Linked DNA regions of Homo sapiens: all the other regions are linked to region 1. Evidence: promoter capture Hi-C in 16 types of primary human blood cells and fetal thymus (Javierre and others, 2016). All regions are on one chromosome and are shown on one strand. The core of a region is centred on a gene start or on the middle of the fragment in contact, and the rest is flanking DNA. Distances in the headings are between cores, read along the strand shown.

What was found. The method cuts DNA at HindIII sites, captures the fragments that hold promoters and counts their contacts. A CHiCAGO score of 5 or more calls a contact.
Region 2: a contact is called between a fragment that was not itself captured here and the fragment with the promoter of MBTD1 in region 1, in 4 of 17 cell types (monocytes, total CD8 T cells, total B cells and 1 more). The highest score is 6.7, in monocytes.
Region 3: a fragment that was not itself captured here is called in contact with the fragment with the promoter of MBTD1 in region 1 in 1 of 17 cell types (neutrophils); the score reaches 6.1 in neutrophils.
Region 4: a fragment that was not itself captured here is called in contact with the fragment with the promoter of MBTD1 in region 1 in 1 of 17 cell types (non-activated CD4 T cells); the score reaches 5.2 in non-activated CD4 T cells.
Region 5: a contact is called between a fragment that was not itself captured here and the fragment with the promoter of MBTD1 in region 1, in 1 of 17 cell types (neutrophils). The highest score is 5.3, in neutrophils.

What each region holds. Positions count from the first base shown.
Region 1 is chr17:51,256,089-51,261,705 of GRCh38, forward strand. It overlaps MBTD1 (mbt domain containing 1), which reads right to left and starts at 3,961. Exons shown (of 17, transcript NM_017643.3): 1 at 3,747-3,961; 2 at 3,055-3,118. It overlaps UTP18 (UTP18 small subunit processome component), which reads left to right and starts at 4,458. Exons shown (of 14, transcript NM_016001.3): 1 at 4,458-4,838. The coding sequence starts at 4,497. RefSeq lists silencers at 3,699-4,018, 4,359-4,468, 4,819-5,008 and an enhancer at 5,479-5,528. The HindIII fragment of the contact is 12,089 bases long and covers 192-5,617 here.
Region 2 is chr17:50,986,146-50,991,428 of GRCh38, forward strand. SPAG9 (sperm associated antigen 9) reads right to left here. Exons shown (of 30, transcript NM_001130528.3): 20 at 4,305-4,523; 21 at 3,532-3,727; 22 at 967-1,092. Among named protein-coding and RNA genes, the nearest start is that of TOB1-AS1, 120 kb to the left of the region's middle. The HindIII fragment of the contact is 2,993 bases long and covers 2,187-5,179 here.
Region 3 is chr17:50,904,954-50,910,016 of GRCh38, forward strand. No RefSeq gene overlaps it. Among named protein-coding and RNA genes, the nearest start is that of TOB1-AS1, 41 kb to the left of the region's middle. RefSeq lists enhancers at 3,878-4,788, 4,789-5,063 and a silencer at 4,315-4,609. The HindIII fragment of the contact is 6,686 bases long and covers 471-5,063 here.
Region 4 is chr17:50,969,732-50,975,475 of GRCh38, forward strand. It overlaps SPAG9 (sperm associated antigen 9), which reads right to left. Exons shown (of 30, transcript NM_001130528.3): 28 at 5,040-5,216; 29 at 976-1,125. Among named protein-coding and RNA genes, the nearest start is that of TOB1-AS1, 110 kb to the left of the region's middle. The HindIII fragment of the contact is 1,984 bases long and covers 2,726-4,709 here.
Region 5 is chr17:50,844,058-50,849,017 of GRCh38, forward strand. It overlaps the pseudogene RPL5P33. Among named protein-coding and RNA genes, the nearest start is that of WFIKKN2, 11 kb to the left of the region's middle. RefSeq lists an enhancer at 363-888. The HindIII fragment of the contact is 1,512 bases long and covers 1,608-3,119 here.

The DNA of each region.
Region 1 (5,617 bases), core at 2,711-5,210:
ATTAAACATAGTGAAAAAGGAAAAAGAAGGAAAGCCTGGGAACACATCTTAACATTTTATCTTATGACTTGTCTCATCTTTTATAGCAGCTTACTTTTTTTAAACAGCGGGCATAACATCTGAGTGGAGGTTTACAGAAACTACAGGAGGCAGGGCTGATGTTCACCCTGTATTTCAGATGAGGAAAGTGAAGCTTTCAAAGAGGTTACACAACTCACCTAAGATCGCAGTTCAGAGAGGTAGCTTGCTGACTTTGTCCAGAGCTCACTTCTACTAGACTAAATTCTAAATTATCAGTGCTAAAGTGAGAACTCGAAGGGACCTCAGAAATCTCCTAATGGAGTGTTTCCCTAACCAACCTGATAAACTTTCTGGGGTATACATTAAAAACACATTCCCAGGACCCACTGCAGACCTACTAAATAAGTTATAGGAGAGAAGTTTAGTATTTTAACAAGAGCCTCCAAGAAGTGATTATAATGATTAGTTATGCTTAGAAAACAGTGTTCTATGTGTGTATGTCCAGTATGCCAGACATTTGGCTACTTAAATTTACATTGCCTAAAACAGCAAAATTAAAAATTGAGTTCTTCAATTTTTAGTTCCACTAGTTACATTTCAAGTGCTCAACAACCACATGTGGCTAGTGGCTACCGTAACTGGACAGCAAAGATATAGGAAATTTCCATCATTGCAGAAACTTCTATTGGATTATGCTGATACTAGACTAACCCTTCAACTGCCATGAGAAAATGGAGGCACAGGATCTTGTCCAACAAGGGCCATGGAGCTACTCAATGGCAGAATTGTGACATCAACCTCACTGCCAGCACCCCTCTTATTGTATCACTTCATCCTATCTCATATTCAGGGTTTGTTCAAATGGGAATTATTTCCTTTTCACCTTTTATTGTGGGTTCCAGCAAAGCAAGAAGAGAAATCCTAAATTTGCAGGTAAAAAAATCCTTAAGCCAAGGTTTATTAAAAAATAATGATTAAATCTATGTGCAATTTTTGCCTGAAATCAAAAGTCATCTTGCACAGTTAAGAATACTGTGGTGTTAGGAGAAATATCTTAGCTTGTTTTAACTATTGTAAGTCCTTTCTCTTTTATTGTCCTGATGTTTTTATTCTTTCTTGAATTTTGAAACCCTCAGACTAATGATACATAAGTGTGAAAGGTTATATCTTATTTAGCAAACATTTTAAAGATGAAAAGCTGAGAAACAAAGAGCAACCCAAAGAATGTCACTTGTCTAATTTTAGAATGTGGTTACTCAGACTACTGAGCACTCTTGGCTTTTAGTAATTCAGTGGTTTAGTATTTATCCTAATATGTTGTTTTCACTTTTAAACTATAGCTTATATTTTCCTTTGATCACTATGTTACATTTGAAAACAATTTAAAATGTTGTTTTAATTTTCAACATTATTGAGGGACCAAAAGCAGCACTAGAACATCTAGAAAGGTTTAGATAATAAGGTCAACATATAACCAGCTTTAAAGAATATGGCAGCGTCTTAAAAATAAAACCAGTTGTTCCTGTCTAGTATGTTTAGAATGCAGATGTCTCCAAAGTCAGTCAACTTAAGTCATGACAGTTCATGTTTAAAGTAAGCAGGAAAAAAACTTGGAACTCCTTATTAATTAAAATGTTAAAAACACTATTATTACACCTCTACTGATTCTTTTTCACAAGCTGAATTCTAATGAGTAGATTTAGAGGAAATATTTTATGTCAAACATTACATAAAGTTAGAAACTGGATGGTTAAAAAGCATGACGCAACAACGTAAGGCACTATGAATAAATACTTATTCAAGACAGATGTTGCCATAATTTGCAAGGTACTCACAAGCAATCAGTATGGGGTTTTAGATAGATAGAAGCTACTTGTTATTCAGAGAAGGAGGTGGTGCAAAAAAAAAAAAAAAGTACAGCTATTTTCTTTCTAAACACTCTGGTGTTGAGGTAAACAAATGAAAAATAAAATAACAGTCTAAGTCCACAAGAGCAAAGCAACAGTCTCTAAGTTATAAGAGGAGGAGAGAAAAATTGAGTCTAACCTTTTAAATAGGAGACTGGGGCTTAAGGTGAAATTTATTTGCTGGCTTTTAAATCACATGCATTATTTCTACATTATACCTGTTATGTCTTGACACCCACTTCACCACATTAGAGAGTAATAGGTATATCCAAGATTCTTAGGCCAATAAAACTACTTTTAGAGGCAGCATAGCTCACCAAATGAAGGAGAATGTTAGAAAAACACCCAGTGACAATAGTTTCAACTATCTCAACCACCCAGTGATAAGTACTGGTGCATGCTAATATAAGGAGAATTAAAAATATTGTAAACTCTAAACAAGTATTAAAATGGTTCGTAAATTTCAAATCTCATAAAAGATAGTTACTTAAAAAAAAAAAAGAAGGAGTAAAAGCATTTGGAAGAGAGGCCCTTGGAGGAAAGACTAGCTTCCGAGGAACACAGGTCAAATACGGGTGTGGGCGGTAATCATCTAATCATCCCTCTACCAGGTGATGCTTCTAACCACTTCAGTTTTAGACATCCTTAGAAGTGATTTAGGTAATAAACAAATGTGTTTTGTGATACAAGAACCACGGAGATGACGCTGAAATTTCTAACTTCAAAAAGATGCACTCCTAAGAGAAAACAGGCACGAAATTCCCATATTGTAATTCTTTAGCTTCCTGTAGAAAAACATCTTCAGGCATGTAAGCCAGCACACTTGACACTGACCCAGCAAAGTTTTCGGCTAGCCCTCACTATCTCTCAACCCCCCTTCCTCCACTTCCCTGCTGTTCTTTCTTGGCACACAAAATATAGGCCAATGAGCAGTGGGTGGGTGAGGAGGATGTGAGAGAAAATTTGAGAAGTAAAAAAAGGAGCAACTTAACCAGGACATGAATGAGACTGAAGGGTCTAATAAGGGTAGGCAGACAACAATTAGAACTACTGAAATATGGGCTTTCCTGGGCAGTAGTGAGCTCTCAGTGCTTTTAGGGGTGTAAGCAGGGTTCAGACTACCTACCACTTGTCAGAGAGGCTGCAGAGGGGACGGCTGCTTTGGATGACCTCTAATGTCTCTTCCGACTCTGAAATGTTAGGATTCTTATTTCACAAAGGAGAACGCAATGGTCACAGAAGTCCACCGACTTGAAACCCTTTTAAATATGCAGCCTTGGAGGCTGCTTCCCAAACACCACTCCCACCTCTCCCGCACGTGCCCACCCCGCCCCCTTTCAATATTTCCACCTCCACGTGCAAACCGCCTCGCGGCACTGCCCCCAAGGCAGATAGACACCTTCCCCTGCAAAGCAACGAAACTGTGCTCCCCCTCCCCGCCAAGAAGAGAGGACTACTCCACTCTCCCACCCTGGGTGGCTAAAAAAGGAAAAGTCTCGGATCCAGCCTTTCCCCCCTAGCCAGAGCAGGGGGCGGGGGCAGGACGCAGAGAAAAACTTTCTTCTCGAATTTTTCTTCCAAAGGGTGGAGGAGATGGAGAGAACCCCAACGAGTCCAAGGCTGACGGGGTGGGGGGAGGGGAACCCCTGAATCGTTTAACGGCTGGAAGGGGGAGGGGGGCTCCGGAGGTTGAGAGGGCGTGGGATGGAGAAGCAGGCCAGGGAGCGGGGTCAGGGAGCTGCGGGGTTCCTGGGGTCGGAGAGCTGCAGGCGTCCCCCCCACCTGGCACACAAAGCGGCTGCCGCGCTCGGCTCTCACCAGATCCTTTGTGTTTTCCATCAGGGCCTCATGGGTAGGGGTTGTCCGTGCTCCCCGAGCCCGCGGCGCCCCCTCCCCGGGCTGGGGGCAGGTGCCTCTCCCCGGGACTGCGGCGACTACAGGGGGCCCCCGGCTGGGCCCAGACCGGTGGCGGGTGCAGCAGCCCCCGGATTTCCCCCCTTTAACTCGGGTGGCCCCAGGATATCAACAACATTAGCATAGCCCTCCCTCCCCAGCGCGCCTGCGCCGTGACCCGCGCCCCGATTGGCCCACTTCCCTACATACCCTCCTCTCTCGCTTCCACCGTGGGACCCTCTGCAGGCTCCGTACTCCAAGGACCGTACCAAGACGAAGGGTGGAAAGCGTATTGGGGCTTGTGTCAAGTCAAGTGGTTACAGCCAAGAGGAAAAGCAGAAGTTCCATTCAGCCGTCCCAGTGTATAGTCGGGGTTTCTTGCGCTCCTTTCAATATGTTGCAGCTGCGAAATTGTGTTGGAAAAATTTTCCACTCCAGTCACGCCGCTTCCCCCTACACCCGGAAGATTGGCCCTCCCGGAGGAACTCCCACACGGGGCGGGGCTGGGTAGGGGAGCGGGAGTTACGTAGAGGGAGGGAGTGCTGGTCACGTGGCAAGAGGCTGCGCAGGCTCCTTCCGGCCCCCGGGGCTTCGGCGGCGGCGGCCCGCGAGGGGCCTGGGCGCATGCGCAGCGAGGTTCCACGTGAGCGCCTGCGTTTCTCCTCAAACCTAACGATGCCGCCGGAGCGGAGGAGACGAATGAAACTGGACCGGAGAACCGGAGCGAAGCCGAAGCGGAAGCCCGGAATGAGGCCGGACTGGAAAGCCGGAGCGGGGCCAGGCGGGCCTCCCCAAAAGCCTGCCCCTTCATCCCAGCGGAAACCGCCGGCCCGGCCGAGCGCGGCGGCCGCTGCGATTGCAGTCGCGGCGGCGGAGGAAGAGAGACGGCTCCGGCAGCGGAACCGCCTGAGGCTGGAGGAGGACAAACCGGCCGTGGAGCGGTGCTTGGAGGAGCTGGTCTTCGGCGACGTCGAGAACGACGAGGACGCGTTGCTGCGGCGTCTGCGAGGCCCGAGGGTGAGGGAGGCCGCGGCGCGCGGGCTGGGCGCACTCGGGCGGGGCGCGCGGTGGGCGGTGAAGCTCCGGGGGGCGGAGCCTGGGCGACCTGCGGCGGCGGGGAGCGCTCAGGTGGGAGGGAGCCCGAGAACGCGGGCGCGGAGGGTCGCAGCTGCGGGTCCCTCGCCTCCCTGCTCCAGACTGAAAGTGCCTGGAGGGCGGGGACCGCGTCTTTCTCCGCCCCTGGAGGCGCCGCTGCTCGGGTATCTGCTTTGCGAACTGTGGTCGTGAGCATCTTTCGCTGCTGCTCGACTCCGCTAGCCTCTTCCCAAACTGAGGGTGGTCTTTTGATCACCTGCCTCAGTTCCTTGTGATTCAGGAATTCGATTTCGTTGATGGAATCAATTCGTGGGCACGGGCCTGGGCATCTCCGTTGTAACTATGTCCCCATGTGACTATGAGACCCACCATGTTTTGAGAATGATCGTGTATTCCGTTCATTTAGCAAATATTGGTGAACCTGTTAGTTGCCAGATACCCTTTCTGGCAATGGCAAACCCTGCGTGATTGATCATACTTTTTGCACACATTTTGCTATCCCTTTAAATTCTATACCAGGCTTTTCTTGAGAGAGTCCCGGACATTGTTCTAGGCACTGGAGGAGACACAGCAATGGACAAAACTGACAAAAATCCCTGCCTTTTGGCGCTTGTGTGCTAGTGGCAGAGACAAGATAGAGGAGATAAACGAGTAAACTTCAGGTTTGTTGGTGACAAGTGCTGAAGAGAAAAAAGGACATT
Region 2 (5,283 bases), core at 2,433-4,932, 270 kb before region 1:
TATGGCCTACAGGCCAGATCCAGTCTGCCACCTGTTTTAATCCAGCCTGCAAGCTAAGAATACTTTTTACATTTTTAAAAGTGTGTGTGGGGGGGAAATCAAGGGTATTTTACGACAGGGGAGATTTATATGAAATTCAAACTACAATGCCCATAATGCTCTACTGGAAGAGAGTTACACTAAGTTTGCCAACTCTTCACTTTATAGTATTGGACTCATATGAAAAAGACATACTACAGGTTGAGTAACCCTTATTTGAAATGCTTGGGATTTCTGACTTTTTCAGATTTTAGAATGTTTACATCATACATAACAGTTGAGTATTCCTAATTCAAAAATCCAAAATGCTCCAATGAGCATTACCTGCCAGCATCATAACAGTGGTCAAAGAGTTTTAAATTTTGGATTAGAGATGCTCAACAGTAATCTTGCTTAACCTTTGTAAATGCACAATTTTGTAAAACTCTCCACACAACCGGAAAGTGAACAAACCATATAATATTAGTCATCATCATCTGACTTTGCAGATTGTGATTTGTTTTACCTATCTTAGTAAAAAATTCACTAAAAGTTGGGATTGGGCCTTCCTGCAGCCAAAATGTTGGTTTAATCCCTGTTTTCCTGCCCACATTCTAGCCTACATAAATTAAATATTCTCTGTCTTTGTGCTGTTCAGGATCTTCTATTTCTGGAGCACCTCGATTTTAAAATTTTACATACCTCTTCTTCCAAGAATATTATAGAAAGGGAACATTCTGTGACAAAGAAACATATGGCTTACTATTCAGAACCAGTGCAAGTCCAGTTTATGTGGTAGTTGCAACATAACATCAAATTGTGTGTATATATAAAATTCTTTGCATTAATCCACACTTTTTGTATTTGTTTACCATATTTTACTTATCTTCTGATTTCAAAAGCAAAAGTAAAACAACATATTCTAATGTTAAAAGCATTGACACCTACCAGCCATTTTGAGCTCCAAGCCACATAGTTGGTAAAAGACTACTCATTTTCTGGGCTTCTTCTCTCACCAAGTCTTGTTCATTTGGCAGTACTGATATTTGATCTTTATATGCATCTGAGTCATTGCTGGAAAGGGAGGGCAAAAGGAAAGAAATCTGAGTATACTTAACTATCGTTATAGTTTTCAGGGACTGAATCCTTCTATATTTAAGTTTGTTCATTTGTTTATTATTTATTTATTTTTTAGAGATAGGGTATCACTCTGTCACCCAGGCTGGAGTACAGTGGCACAATCAGGGCTCACTGCAGCCTTGACCTCTCAGGCTCAAGTGATCTTTCCACTTCAGCCTCCTGAATAACAGGGACTAGAGGCACACACACTATCACACCTGGCTTCAACTTTTAGTCAAAAAAAAAAAAAGAAACCACCAAAATTCCAGAAAAGCCAAAGTCAAAAGCTTACATCACATATTTCAACAATTGTACCAGAAATAACATTAACAAACTAGGAAGCCCAAGGAGCAGAAAAGATAATAAGACATGGTAATGAAATACAGCAGTTAATATTCAGACAATTACTATGGCTGTCTCTTATTTTGGGTTTTGTCATAGTTTCTTCTCAAGTGAGAGAGAAGGGAGGGATACACACATACAAATAGTAGGGAGAAATATAAAGAATGACCTAAAATAAATTAATAAACTGAAATATGTTTAATATTCTATCACAAAACCTTTCCTTTGAATTGTCAGGGCATATTTAGTAAAAGATATATAACCAGGCTATCAAATTCAAACATGACTTATTCTTAAATTAATAATTCAGGCCAGGTGCGGTGGCTCACGCCTATAATCCCAGCACTTTGGGAGGGTGAGGTGGGTGGATTTCTTGAGGCCAGGAGTTCAAGACCAGCCTAGCCAACATGATAAAACCCCATCTCTACTAAAAATACAAAAATTAGCTGGGTGTGGCAGCACATGCCTTCAATCCCAGCTACCTGGGAGGCTGAGGCAGGAGAATCGCTTGAACCTGGAAGGCGGAGGTTGCAGTGAGCTGAGATTGCACTGCTGCACTCCAGCCTGGGTGACAGGGTGAGATTCCATCTCCAAAAAAAAAAAAGAATTAAATATTAACCCATTTATGCCGGAGGTTGCAAATTTTTTTTGTAAAAAATCAGACCTTAGCGATGACCTTGAGCAGTAGGATATGAATAACTCCCACAAGCTTAGCATTCCAATAATGGACCACTAGGCATAAATGGGTTATTAATTAATCTTTCTTACTTTATACACTAAGAATATTAAACTTTAAAAAGGATCTAGTTTAAAGAGACTCTCATCTAGAGGGGATCTAGAAAAGGCAGGAAAGAAAATAAAATAATTCACTAAATGGGCCTAGATTAACCAACCCTTTAACGGAGGAGCCTAAAACAAACAGTTTTCTTTGGTTTGTTTGTTTTCTGAGACAGAGTCTTGTTCTGTTTCCCAGGCGGCAGTGCAGTGGTGATATCATGGCCCACTGTAGCCTCCAGCTCCCAGGGCTCAAGCAATCCTCCCACCTCAGCCTCCTGAGTAGCTGGGACCATAGGTGCACGCTACCACGCCCAGCGAATCATTAAGTTTTTTGTAGAGATGAGGGTCTCACTATGTTGCTCAGGTTGGTCTTGAACTCCTGGACTCAAGCAATCCTCCTGCTCAGACTCCCAAAGTGCTGGGATTATAGGCATGAGCCACTGGAACTATCTGAGTTGTTTTTTAATAAAATATTTGCATGAAAACTAAATTCAAAAAGGTCATCCACACCCATGTGGGAAACTTGTACAATGGCAGATTTAAACAATGGCCAATTTTGCTGATAACTGGAGTGAAAATTAGAGTAGGGGTGGGATTAAAATGACAAAGAATTACTTATAGAATGGAAGACAGTAAGTACAAAAAAAAAGAAAAAAAAACAGATCAGAGGAGAAAATGAACAGAAAGATTTTGACTAATATATAGTCACACACCTGGTAAAACCATTTTGGAAAATGATGGACAGAATATATGGTGGTGGTTCCACAAGATTATACTACTATATTTCTACAGTACCTTGTGCATGTTTACATACACAAATACTTACCGTTATGTTCCAATTATCTACAGTATTCAGTACAGTAACATGCTGTACAGGTTTCTAGCCTAGGAGCAATGGGCTATACCATATGGCCTAGGTGTGTGATAAGCCATACCATCTAGATTTGTGTAAATGCACTCTATGATGTTCACACAATGATGAAATCACCTAATGACACATTTCTCAGAACATATCCCCATTGTTGACTGATGCATGATTATACTTTTATAGATAAGATTTTTTTTTTAAATTGGAAGGTGTACAGAAGAAATGGGGGGGAATATCCAGCGAGAATGATGGAGCGGGAATACATGAAATTATCACAAGAATAGGTATCTTTTAATCCACCACAGTGACACTAATTAGTGGAAATCTTTTGACTGTTTGAGATTATTTTGGTTCCTTTTATTTGTGCACTTCACCCAGTTGCCTAAGTTGATGACCCATTATTATACCTCGACTGATACACTGGGGAGAGGTCTTCTGGGATCTGAACTCCCAAAGGATCTGTAAAGACATGCTCTGTGTAGACGCCAGTTTGGGAGATGTCCACTGTGTCTTCAGCTGACCCCGCATTCCCTTCTGTAGCTTCAGTTGCTTCTTCTGCTGTTGGAACATTTTCATCAACCTCACTATTTTCTGCTTCCATTTCTACAAAGTAAATAAAACACTATTCCAAGTCTGGGCTTTTCTCCTCCAATTATTTCCCCACACAAACCCCTGTTATAGAATTCCATTCCATCTACCCACTCCTTCACACTGTACCATGAAATTAAGAATTCTTCATTCCATTTAACAGTCATTACAGCATTTTTTTTTTTTTTGAGACAGAGTCTTGCTCTGTTGCCCAGGCTGGAGTGCGGCGGCGTGATCTTGGCTCACTGCAAGCTCCACCTCCCAGGTTCACGCCATTCTCCTGCCTCAGCCTCCCGAGTAGCTGGGACTACAGGCACCCGCCACCACGCCCGGTTAATTTTTTGTACTTTTTAGTACAGACAGGGTTTCACTGTGTTAGCCAGGATGGTCTTGATCTCCTGACCTCGTGATCCACCCGCCTTGGCCTCCCAGAGTGCTGGGATTACAGGCGTGAGCCACCACGCCCGGCCTACAGTATCTTCTTTCAAGTTCTTTCAACCTTGTTACTTAAGATCTAAATTAAGTCCATAATGAGGCATCTGAGTGTAGCCTTAGACTCTATACAGATGGCAGGTAAAGAGAATGGATATACCTGGTGGTTTATCCATCACTGGAGAAGCACCATTTGTACTAGGGGAAGTGGCAGCTCCCGTCACACCTTCTGCAGAACAACCAACCACTGTGATGCCTCCTAACAGGCTGTCTGTCTCTGCTGAGCTGTTGCTTGTCATACTTCCACATAAAGATGCTTTGTCTACCTGACCAGATTCTGAAAGATCTTCTCCTGCAGGGTAGTCTGTTTCTCGTGCACCTGAAAAATAAATCTTCTTGTAACAGCAAAGTAAACTTCTATAAATAACATTTTTTTTACTAAAACAATTACAGGTTTGAAATGAGAGTTATGCAGGTGAGATGTACAGGTAGTTGAATACAGGTAGCATTAAATTTACATAAACAAATCTTCACAATATGGGAAGGTAACTTAAAAAATTAAGAAAATACTTCTATTAACACAAGTGCAAATAAACATAAAAATGTCAGAAAATAAACTTTTTTTTTTTTTTTTTTGAGACAGAGTCTTACTCTGTCGCCCAGGCTGGAGTACAGTGGCATGATTCAGCTCACTGCAACCTCCGCCTCCTTGGCTTAAGTGATTCTCCTGCCTCAGCCTCCTGAGTAGCTGGGACTACCGGTGTGAGCCACCACGCCTGGCTAATTTTTGTATTTTTGGTAGAGACAGGGTTTCGGTATGTTGGTCAGGCTGGTCTTGAACTCCTGGCCTCAAGGGATCCACCAACCTCAGACAAGTCCTAGGATTACAGGTGCGAGCCACCACGCCTAGCCAGCTTCTGTTCTTAGTGAGCTCCTCAGCAGCCACAGGTTAAAAACAATCTATTATATCTGACAACATCAGCCAAAAAAAAATTCTTTTAAATCATCAAGACTACTGCTACTACTTGAAGTATAAGCTTCTATCCATTACTGTTAAAAATTAAATGCCCCAAGTATATAGGTTGATTAAGATATTAGTAAAACATTAAAAACTAAGCATTTATAATATAAAAATATTT
Region 3 (5,063 bases), core at 2,564-5,063, 350 kb before region 1:
ACCCAGAGTGTCACCGGGGACCTTTACCCTGAATGGGGATGGTTTTAACAGCCCCTAGAGAGGGTCAGGGCATCTGTGACAGGACAGGGTCTGAGCCCCGGACTTTCACCTCTCAGCCCAGTGCCCTTTTCCCCGCAGCAGCCTAAGCTCCCAGTGATTCTCTGGGGGAGGGATTTCTGATGGGGCTGGTTCTAAAGAAAAGCTCTCCAGGGCAGGGCCTGTGAAACCCAAGGACTGACTGCTGCGGGGGCTGGATAGCCTTTGGGGACAGAGGAGGGGAGAGGGTGGCAGAACCTAAACAGCTGCGGCCGCTGCTTTGTCCAAGGGCAACCCAGCCTCCCAGGTGTGGCCATCACCTCTGCCTCTGACCTGAGTCTCAGACCAGAGCCAGCTGAGGCCTGGGTGCTCCCTTCAGCCCCTTCTGGTTCTGCAATTCAAGGCCCAGTTAACCCCCTGTGGGGTCATAGAGAAGCTTGCAGAGGGTGAAGCCTGGGACCTGATTCTGCTCACCCTGGACTCTGGCCCAGCCAGTGCCTTCTGGCAACAGGGACCCTCTGGGGTCCCAGGAGCCCTGGAACCTCCTCTGCTCCCTCTGGCTCTGTCTCCTGCCCCACCCCCTTCCCTGTTGCCACCTGCACCTGTTTTTCCAGCCTTGCTCAATCTCTCCAATCCACAGGCTGTTTGTTCCCAGGGGTCGCCTCCCCTTATCTCCCAGGCAGCTGTTGGCCATGGCCTGAAGGTACAGAATTCATTGTTAACTCTTCAGCTTCCCTCACACACTCCACCCCCAAAAACCATAGCAGCAAAGAGCACCAGGGAGGGCCCAGGTTTGGGGTCTGGGGTCTGGCCCTCCCTGCTGTGTGACCTTGCCTCATTGTGTGACCTTGAGCTGGTCACTTACCCGCTACACTTCTGTTTTCTCATTGGTAAAATGAGAGCATTTTACCTTTTTATTACCTCAGCTCTGTACCTCTTCCCCCGCCACACACACACACACTCACAAACTCTTTCTCTCTCTCTGTCTCTCTGTTCTTAAAATGTAGGGCTATCAAGTAACACTCATCCAATAATTATTAATTCAGGAGCTGATTTTTTTTTTCCAGACAGTCTCGCTCTTGTCCCCCAGGCTGGAGTGCAGTGGCTCGATCTTGGCTCACCTCTGCCTCCCAGGTTCAAGCAATTCTCCTGCCTCAGCCTCCCAAGTAGCTGGGATTACAGGCACCTGCCACTACGCCCGGCTAATTTTTGTATTTTTAGTAAAGATGGGGTTTTCCCATGTTGGCCAGGCTGGTCTCAAACTCCTGACCTCGTGATCTGCCTACCTCGGCCTCCCAAAGTGCTGGGATTACAGGCATGAGCCACCATGCCCGGCCAGGAGCTGATTTTGTATGAAGCAAAACTAATCAGAGCTTCTGAGCAGCATGTCCTGGTTTTGTTTCATACAAAACAGAATCCTGAATGAGTAATTACTGAATAAATGTACATTTATCATGTCCCTCATAATTCCAGCAATGAAACTTGACATTTTAGTTAAGCCAGTGTACCCTTCTCACAGATAAATATTCTATTTTCTGTTAGGATTTTATAAAGATAAAAAACAGCAACAGGTCTCTTTCTCCCTGCTCTTTTCTGATCTGGGGTGGGGTGTGGGGAGCCAGGAACAGGTGATCTTCCAGACCCCTTGTATTGCTGGGTTAGGAGGCCCACGTGTGTTCCATTGGCGAATACACTAGTCAATCATTAGGCCCATCATCAGTCCCACCTACCAATGCCTGGCCCCCATCAAAGACCAGTACAGAATAGAGAAGGGCCAGCAGGACCGGGGCAGAAAACCCTGCTCCCATCACAAACCCTTCTGCCTCTGCCCGCCCAGCCCACAATGAACACCAGAATTCAGAGCTACTGCCAGTGGAAATGGGAAGGGACCACCTCTGTGAGCACTTTAGGATTTCTCCAAGGGATGAGAAAGACTGGTTAAGAGTTCAGGGGGGCACAGTGGCTCACACCTGCAATCCCAGCACTTTGGGAGGCCGAGGCAGGAGGATCACCTGAGGCCAGGAGTTTGAGACCAGCCTGGTCAACATGGTGAAACCCCGTCTCTACTAAAAATACAAAAATTAGCCAGGCATGGTGGCAGGCACCTGTAATCCCAGCTACTGGGGAGGCTGAGGCAGGAGAATAGCTGGAACCTGGGAGGCAGAGGCTGCAGTGAGCCAAGATTGCGCCACTGCACTCCAGCCTGGGCAACAGAGTGAGACTCTGTCTCAAAAAACAAAAAAAAAAAAAAAAAGGCTGGGCACAGTGGCTCACGCCTGTTATCCCTGCGCTTTGGGAGGCTGAGGCGGGTGGACCATGAGGTCAAGAGATCAAGACCATCCTGGCCAACGTGGTGAAACCCTGTCTCTACTAAAAAAAAAAAAAAAAAAAAAAACTCTACTAAAAAACAAAAACAAAATACAAAAAAATTAGCTGGGCATGGTGGCATGCGCCTGTAGTCCCAGTTAGTCAGGAGGCTGAGGCAGGAGAATCACTTGAACCCGGGAGGCGGAGGTTGCAGTGAGCCGAGATTGCACCACTGCACTCTAACCTGGGGCGAGACTCTGTCTCAAAAAAGAAAAAAAAATCCATTCCCTACTGGACAGTCTACCATGATGTCTTAGAGGTGCCTCAAATTCAATTTGTTTAAACCAACCCATTGTTCTCCCTCTGGGGATGGGAGGGATGCCCCTCTGGCTGAAACCCCAACCTATACATCTGACCGTCAATCACCCAGGCTCTGCCTTCTGACCCTTAACTCCCCTCAGCCCCTGTCAGGACTTCTAGGCCAGAGCTCCAGTTCCTAATGGTGTTTTCTCCTTCACCTCCCTCAGCCCAGTCCTCACCAGGGCCCTCATGGCTCATGGTGGGGGCCTCCCATCTTCCCACCCATCACCACACTGGAGCCAGGGGGCTTTTTCACATCACCTGTGATTGATCATCCGTAGCCTTGATCAAAACCTTCAGTGACTTCATGCAAGGACACAACATGTATGCGAGACAATGGGGAGAAAAACAGGGAGTAACTAAAGTTCTTGGGGGAAAGGTGGTGAACCACTAATCACTCCAGACCTTTAATTTCACAAATGAGAGATATGAGACTCAGAGACACAGAGTACCCAGCTCAAGGTCACCCAGCAAGGCAGAGGGAGATGGTGTATTTGGGGGACAGTGACGCTCTGTCCCACCTGGCATGCTGTCCACCCCCCATGTCCTCACTGGGCACTGTACTCCAGCCACATGGAGCTTCTGTGTGCCCTAAACTTGAACAGCTCTTTCACTCTACTTCCTTCCTCATGTAGGCATGTCCTTCCTCTCCTCCCCACATCCACAGTCCTAGCCACCCGCCCAGGCCCAGCTCAAGTGCTGCCTCCTCCAGGAAGGCTTCCCTGAATGCCTATGCTGACCTCCTCTGCATGCCTTCCCTCCCATCACTCAGCATTCTCAGGTTTGGTTAGAATCATTCTTGGGCATGTCCTCCAGACAGGGTGGGACTTGTCTTACTCACCTTCATATCTTCAAGAGCACCCTGCACAGTGCCTGGCCTGTCACAGGTGCTCGACAGGTATTTCTGGAAGGAATTATCATTACATTTATATTGTCATTATGCATGTCTGGCATTGACAGTTGAGTCAGCCACTGTGCTCAGTGTACGAGTCAGAAGACATGCGTCTTCAAAACAGTCCCAACGATTAGCCCCATTTCACAGATGAGGAAACTCAGGCTCAAAGGAAATTGATTGCTTGCCCTGGGTCCCACTGCTGGAAGGAGGCAGAGTTGAAACTTGACCCCAAGTGCGGCTGATTCTAAAGCCTGTGACTCTTTGTTTTTGTTTTTGTTTTAAAGACGGAGTCTTGCTGTGTTGCCCAGGCTGGAGTGCAGTGGCATGATCTCTGTTCACTTCAACCTCCGCCTCCTGAGTTCAAGCGATTCTCCTGCCTCAGCTTCCCAAGCAGCTGGACTACAGGTATGTGCCACCATGCCCGGCTAATTTTTATAATTTTAGTAGAGACGGAGCTTCACCATGTTGGCCAGGCTGGTCTCAAACTCCTGACCTCAGGTGATCTGCCTGCCTCTGCCTCCCAAAGTACTGGGATTACATGTGTGAGCCATAGCATCTGGCCCAGCCAAGCCTATAACTCTTAATCTCTGTGTTCTCTCTGCAGCAGGGATGACGGCGCTCCTGGAGGCTGGCTGGGAAGCTGGTCAGGGTCCCAGGACTCTGACACCCCCAATGGCCCTTGTAGCCTTGGGGAGTCCTGTGATCCAAGGCTGGAGGACTGAGTCCCCTCCAGGTCTCATAGCAGACGAATAGCAGCTTCACCCAGGCCTGTTTTGTCGTGGCCCCATTCAGAGGCCGCCCTCCTCTGTGGTTTAGAGCATGCCCTGGAATCCCTAGCACAACCAGGTGACGAGAGTTCCCCGCTGGCCCCCTGCCGCGGGAACACAAAGTACCTTTGCACATAACCTTTCTTTGTCCTCTGCTGGTGACGGCAAATAGGGCAGGCCCAGGGCAACGTGGTAAGGTGGCAGAAGTTTGTTTTGGACAGTGTTTGCAGCTTCTCTGTTCCCTTTCCACCAGGGGTTACCTCCTGCTGGCTGACCCCTTCCTGTGCTGCGGGCTGGAATATAGGGTTTAACCCTGTTATAACCCAGAGGAACACAAAAGGAGGAACATCAGGCTTTATGGAGAGACTGGAAATGAAGTGGAGGTTTTCCTTGCTCATGAAACCTGGCTCACCCTACAGGTAGTCCCAAAGAGAGCTTGTGATTTTCTTTCCCCTTTGGTCCCCCGACCCCTTCAGAGCTCTCTGGGAAGCTATGCTCTCTCACTGCTTTCCCTCCCCTGATCAGAGTCCCTGTGCCAAGGCTCCTGGATACTGGGGCTGGAAAACCTCCTGTCCCTTCCACCACTCCTGTGCCCTCCAGGGAAGGGGTCTGGGGTCTCGGGGCTCACCCCCACCTGTGTGCCAGTCCCTGTGCTAGGCCTGCACAGACATCAGCTCGCTGATCACTACGAGAACCTC
Region 4 (5,744 bases), core at 2,468-4,967, 290 kb before region 1:
TCGGAGTGCCAACCCCTGGTCCTCCCCACCCCATTCCCCAACCTGACCCTTTGTGCTAAGACTATGCAGTGCTGAGTCACCTCAAGCATCATTTCTTGACTTCCTTCTCTCCCTACCCTTGGAAAGAACTGACTACTCACTACCAGAGCATCAGTAACATTTTAATTTATTAACATGTCTCTATCTCTGCACTGTTCTATAATCTATTAGACGAAGGCTTTGTCTGATTTGTTTCTGTATCTCCAGTTTAAGAATGACAGGTACACAGTAGGTGCTCAATTAATGTTTGTTAGGTGAGAAAATGAACAAATGAAGTTGTTTAAGAAATATTTTTATTTCTCCATTTTGACAGAAAACCGAGGCTCTAAGAGGTTGAATGACTTGTCCAAGGCCTTCTGACCCTAAATCCTATGCTTTTCACATAAAACTTCACATTGACCACATCCTGCTATTTCTAATGCTCCTTTCAAACAAATACATTTTGGTATGAAAAGAAATACCAAGGGCCGGGTGCGGTGGCTCGGGCTTGTAATCCCAGCTGGAAGGCCGAGGCAGGCGGATCACTTGAGGTCAGGAGTTTGAGAATAGCCTGGCCAACATGGTGAAACCTTGTCTCTACTGAAAATACAGAAACTAGCCAGATGTGGTGGTGCATGTCTGTAATTCTAGCTACCTGGGGGGCTGAAGCAGGAGAATCACTTGAACCTGGAGGCAGAGATTGCAGTGAGCTGAGATCATGCCACTGCACTCCAGCCTGGGTGACAGAGTGAGACGTCATCTCAAAAAAAAAAAAAAAAGAAAGAAATACCAAAAAGAAAAAAACAAAAAACAAAAACCCACAAAATCCTTTCGTGTGTAAAGAGCTCAAAGAGAACCTCTTATAAATCATTATCAGAGTGGTTTCTTATTTACTTTGGGACAAAACCCAAGTCATAGCACACAGTGCAAACTGAGCACCCAGAACCAATGACATACCCATTCGGAAGTCGATGTAGCCCTCTCCTCCACTGATGACAAGCATAGACTTCAAGGGCGTCTGACTACCAGGCTCCTGTGCAGATGGCCCTGCTTTGTCACCCGTCAGATCCGTGCCACTACTGCTACTTTGTGGGCTGATGACTTGACCTGTTTTATACAGAAACAAAAGTGAATATTACTTATCACAGAAGGGAGGCTGTTTTGTTTTTTTTTTTTAAGTATTTTTAGAGTTAAACAAAAAGGTAAATATATTCTAATAACCAAATACTGGGGAAGCTAGAAGGCTCTGCATGATCAGAAAACATTTACATGAAGGTTTTAAGAACCCGATTTGAGGTCAGGCATGGTGGCTCACACCTTCGAGAGGCCGAAGTGGGAGAATCACTTGAGGCCAGGAGATTGGGACCAGCCTGGCAAATATAGTAAGGCCTCATCTCTACCAAAAAAGTTAGCCGGGAATGGTGGTATGCGCCTGTAATCCTGGCTTCTTGGGAGGTTGAGGCAGAAAGATCACTTGAGCCCAGGAGTTCAGTGTTGCAGTGAGCTGTGATGCGCCACTGTACTCCAGCCTAGGCAACAGAGCAAGACCTTGCTTCTAAAAAACAAACAAACAAACAAACAAACAAACAAACAAAACCCAATTTGAAAATCTAAGTAAAGCAATTTTGTAACAAAGCAGGAATAGGCCCCAAATCCAATATGAGATATATGCATGGCAAGGTGGGTCTTAGCTGCCTGCTTCAAACTACCTTTTTTTTTTTTTTTTTTTTTTTTTTGAGATGGAGTCTTGCTCTGTCGCCCAGGCTGGAGTGCAGTGGCACAATCTTGGCTCACTGCAACCTCCGCCTCCCGGGTTCAAGCGATTTACCTGCCTCAGCCTCCTGAGTGGCTGGGACTACAGGCACGTGCCACCATGCCCGGCTAACTTTTTCAGTAGAGACAGGGTTTCACCGTGTTAGCCAGGATGGTCTCAATCTCCTGACCTCATGATCTGCCTGCCTCGGCCTCCCAAAGTGCTGGGAATACAGGCATGAGCCACTGCACCTGGCCCAAATTACTTTATTTATTTATTTTTGAGACAGAGTTTCGCTCTTGTGGCCCAGGTTAGAGTGCAATGGCGCGATCTCGGCTCACTGCAACCTTCGCCTCTGGGGTTCAAACAATTCTCTTGCCTCAGCCTCCCAAGTAGTTGCGATTACAGGTGCCTGCCACAACGCCCGGCTAATTTTTGTATTTTAGTAGAGATGGGGTTTCACCAAGTTGGTCAGGCTGGTCTCAAACTCCTGACCTCAAGTGATCCACCCACCTAGGCCTCCCAAAGTGCTGGGATTACAGGCATGAGACACTGTGCCTGGTCTCTTAAAAATTTTTAATGAAGTCTTGCTATGTTTGCCCAGGCTGGTCTCAAACTCCTGGGCTCAAGTGATCCTCCTGCCTTGATTTCCAAGTTGTGGAATTACAGGTGTGAGCCACCATGCACAGCCTACCTGCTTCAAACTATTATAGTCTAAATCTTTTGATCTGAGAAGACAGTGGAAAAGGTCTCTCCCTTGAAAAGGAATGTGCTTATTTGTGTAAGAGACTGAGAAAAGTCTTCAACTTAAGCCCTATGAGTTTGCATAGTCATAATTAACATTTAAATTTATTTCAAATCTATGGCTTTCCTCTCATATTTAAGGAAAATACAGGTTATTTTTAATTTAGATTATGCAAACAAAATTACTAGTAAATGTGCTGTTTGTTCTAAAGCTTAAGTTCTAAGGTAGAATCCTTGAGTGTGAAATAATAGAAAGAGAGAAACCTTTAAATATTATTCACAACTATGAACAAATGAGCAATCTCTAAGCCAACCCTCTTAGCAAGATTTAATTGTGGGATATTTTTTTCCTTGTCAGAATCTGCTGTCCTTTGGTCAAACTACACAGACTGCGCCTCCAGGAGCTAGCTGGACAGCCATTAATGCGACACACTGTAACAAAATTAATGTATGTTGAAAGTGGATAGGATAGTCTGACGTATCCCCACAGGGATTCATTCATGCATTACTCAATTATACTTTGGAAGAAATCAAGCATGCCAGCAATGACTTCTGTTGGTAGACGAGTTAGTTCTGCCACAGAAGCAAGAGCACAGTGGTATTACTGATAAGGCCAACCAGAATGGTTTAATCTTTAGGGCCAACTGGCCTCGCAACAACCATGTTGCTAATTCCACTTTTAGATTTATACCCAACAAAAAATCCTTACACATGCACACAAGAAGGTCTGCTTCAGTATTGTTTTTAATAGTGAAAAAAGAAAGGGGAGAAGCCTAGAGGTCCATCAACAGAAGAATGAATAAAATGTAGCACTTTTATTCAGTTATAATACCAGTTAAATGAATAAACTAGATTTTTATGTATGAACATTGATAAATCTCAAAAAATGAGAAGCAAGTTGTAGAAGCATACATATAAAACACAACATTTAACATGTAAAGTCCAAAACCACAAAACAATCATACATTGTTTATAAACACATTCAAACATAGTAAAAATACAAAAACAGGGGCAAGAGGATTTGCATCGACTTCAAGATAGTGGTTACCAATGGAGAGGAAAAGGAGAGGAGAATGGGATTGGAGAGGGATACAAAGGAGATTTAAAGGAAACTGTGATATTTCATTTTTTTTTAAGCAAGAGAAACACTGTTACCAGCAATCCCATTTCTAGGAAGGAAATGACTATACAAATATATAAAATGTACAAATGAGGTTTCAGAAAGCTCATTATCACTGTTGTTAAGAATAACTGAATAATTGCTTAGGGTACCATATGCCAGCCCTTGCCCCATGTACATAAAATCATTTAATCTTTGGAAGACCCTTGGGAAAATAAGTATGATGAGTAATTTGACGTGTTAGCTCGATACCCAGATATTTGGTCAAACACCAGTCTAGATATCATTGTAAGTCTTTTTTAGATGTGATTAACATTTAAAACAACAGACTTTGAGTAAAGCAGATTACACGCCACAGTGTGGGTGGGCCTCATTTAACCAGTTGAAAGCCTTAGAAGAAAAAGACTGAGGGATCCAGAGGAAAGAGAAATGTTGCCTCCAGACTGCTTTCAGATTTGGACTGCAACATCCACTCTTCCCGGGGTCTCCAGCCTGCCAGCCTGCCCTGCAGATTTCAGACCTGCTAGTCCCCACAACTGTGTGACCCAATTTCTTAACAGTAACTCTCTCTTCATACGCACATACACATGCATCCTATTGGTTCTGTTTCTCTGAAGAACCCTGACTAATATACTACATCACACAGTTAGTTGGTGGGGGAAAGTCAGATCTGAACTTCGTCTAGCTCCTAAACTTGCCTCTTATGGGAAAAAAAAATTCAAAACCTGTGTCCTGCTTACAGATGGTCAGTGACATCACTTAAGTATTGTCAATGGATAATTTGTCATTTTTCACTGGACATCATCACTTCCATCTTTTTTCTGGGTGGTGCTTTATAGCTCCCAGTAGCATTTTCATTAATTTTCATAACAAATGAAGTAGGCAGAGCAGATATTAATCACATCCACCTAGGAGTGAGGAAATGAGTCTCTGAGGTTAAGTGCCTTGCTCGAGGTTAGTGGCAGAGACACAGGGGCCAGACCCCCAGGCCTCCTAGTTCACTGCTTTTTCCTATTAAGCTGCTAAAGGTACCAGAGTGCATTCTCTCTTCCTCCATGCAGCCTTGATGATAGAAGCTTCTTTCTAGTGATTTCTCTTATTAGGTCAAGACCATTTTTGGCAATCCACGATGATAAAATAATACTACTGCTTTTCAAAAGTAAGCAAGTCTCCTAAAGAAAAATCAACAAATTTATCTTTGGGGGTGGGAGAGATATTCCAAAGTAACTTCATTCAAGTATCCCTATAGCACCTTAGTCACACCTCCATTACAGAACTTCCTTCGTATATATTGAAATTACCTGCAATTCGAGTACTTAGCCTTAGACTATTAGGTAGTGGAACCAAGAGATGACAGAAGAGAGACAATTACATGGAACATCTCAACAGAATAATCTAACATACCTGGGACTGCCACAAAGAATTTCACAGCATCCCGGTGCCCATGGAAGCAAAGCTGTGCATGTGCCATTGAACAATAGGGTATAAATGTCCCTGGAGTCACTTTATCACTGTTTTCATCACCATATACACGGATTACACTTCCAGGACGATTTCCTGGTACACCTGAGGTTTTATTTGCTGCAACAGAAAAACCAAATACCAAATATTTTCCCCTAGAAAACAGTAATGAATGTAAGAGGTTACTGGTTAATCCTTATGATATTATCTAAAAGCTACAGCCAGTTGAGATAAAACAAGGATGGCAATGCCAATTCAAGACAAAGCTGGGAAAAAAAGAGATACAGCATGCTAGTTATTTTTAAGTACCTCAGTAAATGGAGTAGGGGATTTTGCCAGTCTAGCAATAAGTAAGCTTATTTTTTAAACACATCTATTCATTTAAAAAATAATTTTAGTTAAAAAAAAAACAAATTTGAATCTTAGTTGTTTCTTGTTTTGTTTTTAATGCACATGTTAGAAAACTAACCATTATACAGTTTAAAGTAAATGGGTATATTTGCAAATAAAGTCTTTCTTTATAGTTTATCTTCTGATTTTTCTCCCTCACAGTAAGAATATTTCCCTTGAGGGGGTTGGTAAAAAGTTGTGCTTACAAGAATCCAGCCACTACAATAGAGCAGCTTTTATTGATACCAGACTGATGGT
Region 5 (4,960 bases), core at 1,114-3,613, 410 kb before region 1:
ATACAAAGCCTGGCATCTAGCAGGAGCTCAGGAAAGGGTGGATGGAGCTCCCAGGGCCTGGTTGCCAGCCAGTCTCGGGAGGTTGCTTTGCTCAGTCAAATCGAGGAGATTTGGCCCCAGCCTAGGTCCTGGGACATAACGAAATTGAGGCCCCTTTATCCAGGCTAGACTCACCTGTCTCCTGTCTGCCCTGGATACTCACTCCTCACCTTCCTGCACCCACTTGGCTCTCTCCTTCCTGTTCTGACCCTCAGTTTGCCTCTTCAGAGGACTATTCCCGAGCGGGCCTGTCTCCAGATCAGCCCCCAGGGCCTCTGGGGCAGGGCAGCTTGGCTTTTTCCACCCTCCGCCTCCCCCAGCACCTCCAGCCTGCTAGGACACTCTGCTCCATTGTCTAGCCAGCCGCTCCGTAGTCTGATGTCACCCCCCGGACAGTGGGGCTGGAGAGCAGGGATGGGGTGAACCCTGACTAGAGTCCACAGCATCGGTGATTGCCTTAGGCCGTGGGGAACTCCCTCCGTCCCCTTGTCCTATTGTAAAACAGCAGCATGCTTGCGCACGTCCTATGTGCCAGGTACCAGCTCTTGTAAGCTCCACTGCAACTGGAGGAGACAGAAGGCTATTTTGTAGGTAGGAAAACTAAGGCTAGACGGGATAAGAAACTTGCCCCAAATCGGATGAGTGGCAGAGCCAAGACTTGAATCCTGCCAGTCTGACTTCAGAGTTTTTGTTTTGTTTTGTTTTTGAGATGGAGTCTCACTCTGTCACCCAGGCTGGAGTGCAGTGGCATGATGTCAGCTCACTGCAACCTTCGCCTCCCGGGTTCAAGCGATTCTCGTGCCTCAGCCTCCCTGAGTAGCTGGGATTACAGGCGTGTGCCACCATGCCTGGCTAATTTTTGTATTTTTAGTAAAGACAGAGTTTTGCCATGTTGGTCAGGCTGGTTTCGAACTCCTGACCTCCGGTGATCCGCCTGCCTCGGCATCTCAAAGTGCTGGGATTACAGGCATGAGCCACCGCGCCCAGCCCAGAGCTCTTAATGCTCATGTTATGTTGTTTCTCCTAGTGTGCAACACACACACACAAACACACACACACCCTGCTCTGGGCTGGGCAGTGTGGAGTCCTATCAGGACCCCAAATATCTCTAAAGAGACTGCCTCCCATCAGCACACACATACCACTCAGGGCTGTTTACAACCTCACCCTGTGACAAGTATTTCTATCACACACACAAGCAGTCCTGGCCTAGATTCATCAGCCTTCTGCCTACTCATCCTTCAAGACTCAGCTCCTTGGGGAAGCCTCTGCTGTCCCCCGGCTGTGTGAGCACTCCTCTCTGAGTCCCTCTCCCTCTGTGTTTGTGCTGATCCAGATCAGAATCATTGCCTAGGGCCTCCAGGAAGCTGTGGGCCCAGCTCTCAGAGCTCATGGGGGTGCTTGCTGGGTGAAACAGAGGGTCCTGGGACCAGGGGCCACTCAGCGCTGCTGCACTGAACAACCACAAGCCTAGAAGGGGCCTCTCTGGGGTCCTCCCTCTTTTTCCCAGCTCCACCTCATGTTGCCTCCTCCTCCTCCTCTTCCTCCCACCTCTCTGAAGAGTCTGAAGCTTCCCTCCTACTCTGGAGAATTTGTGATTAATGCAGGCGGGATGGGTGGCAGGGTTCCTGGGCCCTATTCTTGGCTGTGGCCTCATTCTGGAATGTGCCCTGAGGTCAGGTGACACTCCTCACTCAGGCTGTGTCAGGAGGAAGGAAGAGTAAACCTCCAGCTGACATCTCCTGAGGGAGAGGGCAGGGTGGGCAGGTGGGCAAGCCCCTCACCCCTCTCCTGCCTGCCTCCCAGGCTCCTGAGGCCCTCGACCCATTTCAGGGTCACGTTGGAGTCCCTGCGGTCCCGTCCCAAATTACCCCGGGACACGGTACTCCACTAGGTCTCCAGCAATACTCTGGCCACCCTCAACCCCACTCGGATGAGGGAAAGCAGAACCCAGCCCAACATAGACTAGCCTCTCCTGGAGGTGGGGCCTCTTCCCAGGTGTCTGTCAGGGGCAAAGGGGGCACTTGCGTGCTTTCGGCCCTTTTCAGGCCTTGAGGACACTGCCAGAGACCCGACGGGAGGAGGTGGACCCATCCAGATAACTTGTTTTCTGTTTTGATGTGAGGGATGCATCCAATTCTGTCCATAGTCTAAGTGAGAGCAGACGACGGTGACTTTATCTCCTTTCTGGGTGGGTAGCCTGGAAGCGAGGAGGGGCCTAGGGTTTTCTCAAGGACCCTGGGCAGGGGAGAAGCACAGTGCCAGGAGTGGGGTGGACATGAGAATGCTAACCCCTGCGCCAGGCACTTTACGTGGACTGCCCGGTTGAATCCTCCCAACCCTCTGAAGGCACCATATTATTTTACTATTTCACCACTTGGCAGATCACACTCTAAGCTGCAACCTTCAGGAGGGCAAAGACCTATACACCAAACACAAGCCTGACCATGTTCATTAAGTGTTTGTCGAATGAATGAATGAATGGGGCAAGCCCTATAGGCTTTATGGAGGAAAAGAGGCCCTCATAGGTGCTATTTTACAGATGCTGAATCGGAGACTCTAAATGTTTAAAGGACCCAAGGCTATAGGGTCATTAAATGAAAGAGCCAAGATTCAAAGCCAAGTCTGTCCGAATTTGGTACCTGTACCCTTATCACGATATTACATATGTATTTTAACCATCGCAGTTAAAGGCTGAGGACCCCAAATGGCGGTTCCCCTTCTAAACACCCATAACCACCACTTCCAACTGGTCCTTGACCTCTGGGAGTACCAAGGGTTTACAGAAATTTTATAAAGCCATACCCTTCAATACTGTTAGTACTGAATTCATGTAAATGAATTTAAATTAAATAAAAACGTAAAATTCATTTCCTCAGTTACGCTAGTTATGGATCAAGTGCCATGTTTCATGTGGCTGGTAGCTGCCATACTGGACAACACAGACAGAATATTTCCAACATTACAGGAAATTCTATTGCACACCCCTGTTACAAAGGATTGACACAAATTTCTCTTTACTCCCATTGTCTCATGACCCTGATCTCAGCCTCAGTATGCCCTCATCTTTTCTCCTGAAAAGCTTATACATCTTTTTTCTTTTCTCTCTTTTTTTTTTTTTTTTTTTTTTTTGGAGATGGAGTTTCACTCTCTTACCCAGGCTGGAGTGCAATGGTGCAATCTCGGCTCACTGCAACCTCTACCTCCTGGCTTCAAGTGATTCTCCTGTCTCAGCCTCCCAAGTAGCTGGGATTACAGGCGCCCACCATCACACCCGGCTAATCTTCATATTTTTAGTAGAGATAGGGTTTCGCCATTTTGACCAGGCTGGTCTCGACCTCCTGACCTAAGTGATCCACCTGCCTCGGCCTCCCAAAGTGCTGGGATTAGAGGTGTAAGCCACTGTGCTTGGCCAGGTTTATATATCTTCATGCAAATAAAGTTCTTGATGGCCTCCCTCAATACCCCAGAGTTCCCAAAAAGGGACACAAATAAGTGCGCACACACACGCAGCACCAGCAGTCATGACACGCAGGTGAAGATGAGTTCTCCAAACTTTTAGCTGAATATGGTAGGGGTGCTGCTGATGGGAAGGAGACAGTGGGAATGAGAGGCTAAGTCCTCCCATGGCACAGCACAGTGCCCATGACAGCTGCCGCCTCCCAGGAATCAGCCTGCCACCAGGCCAGTTATTCAGCAGCTTTTCAGAGACACCTATGCTGCAGCTGTCATCTTGTTTCTTGCATGGAAGTGCTGACTAAAAGTCTAATAATTATTTTGTTAGTGGTCATTGCTGCTATAAGTGTGCTGCATAAATGTTTAAAAAGAGGGCCCAGGGGGCTCTGTTCTGCAGGATGGGGGTGGTTAAAGACGTCAAGAACTAGGCCTACTTTAAGAGATACACGTGAAATTTAGAAAATGACAAGAGGGTAAAACTGATTACTATCTTTGGAAACCCTTGGTGATATAGGATAAAAACAAGTATAACATGCCCAAATACAGGAAAAGTCATGTAACTAATAGAGATATCATTTGTCAGATTACTTATGCTCACATAGAAGGGGATATGATAGTCTGTACAGCTTATGCACATGAACTGCCAAAATGCAATGTGAAGGTTGGCCTGACAGATGACGCTGCAGCCTGTTGTACCAGCCTGTGCTGACCTGCAGGCTTCTCAATAGGTTCGGCATGGACAAGATCTATGATGGCCAAGAGAAGGTGACCAGAGATGAATTATAATGTGGAAAGCATTGATGGTCAGCCCGGTGCCTTCACCTGCTATTTGGATGCAGGCTTTGCCAGAACTACTATTGGCAATAAAGTTTTTGGGGCACTGAAGGGAGCTGTGGATGGAGGCTTGTCTATCCCTCACAGTACCAAATGATTCCCTGCTTATGATTCTGAAGGCAAGGAATTTAATGAAGAAGTACATCAGAAGTACATCATAGGTCAGAATGTTGCAGATTGGATGCATCACCTAATGGAAGAAAATAAAGATGCTTACAAGAAAGAGTTATCTCAATACATAAAGAACAGTGTAACTACAGACGTGGTGGAGGAGATGTGTAAGGAAGCTCATGCTGCTATACAAGAGAATCTAGCTGTGTTAGTCTGTTCTTGCACTGCTATAAAGAAATGCCCAAGACTGGACAATTTATGAAGAAAAGAGGTTTAATTGGCAGGCTATGCAGGAAACATAGCAGCTTCTGCTTCTGGGGAGGCCTCAGAAAACTTACAATCATGGCAGAAGGCAAAGGGGAAGCAGGCACGTCTTACATGGCTAGAGCAGGAGGAAGAGAGAGAGGGGGGAAGTGCTACATACTTTTAAACATCCAGAGCTCCCAATGACTTCCTCACTCACTATCACGAGAACAGCACTGAGAGGTGATGCCAAACCATTCATGAGAAACTACCCCCA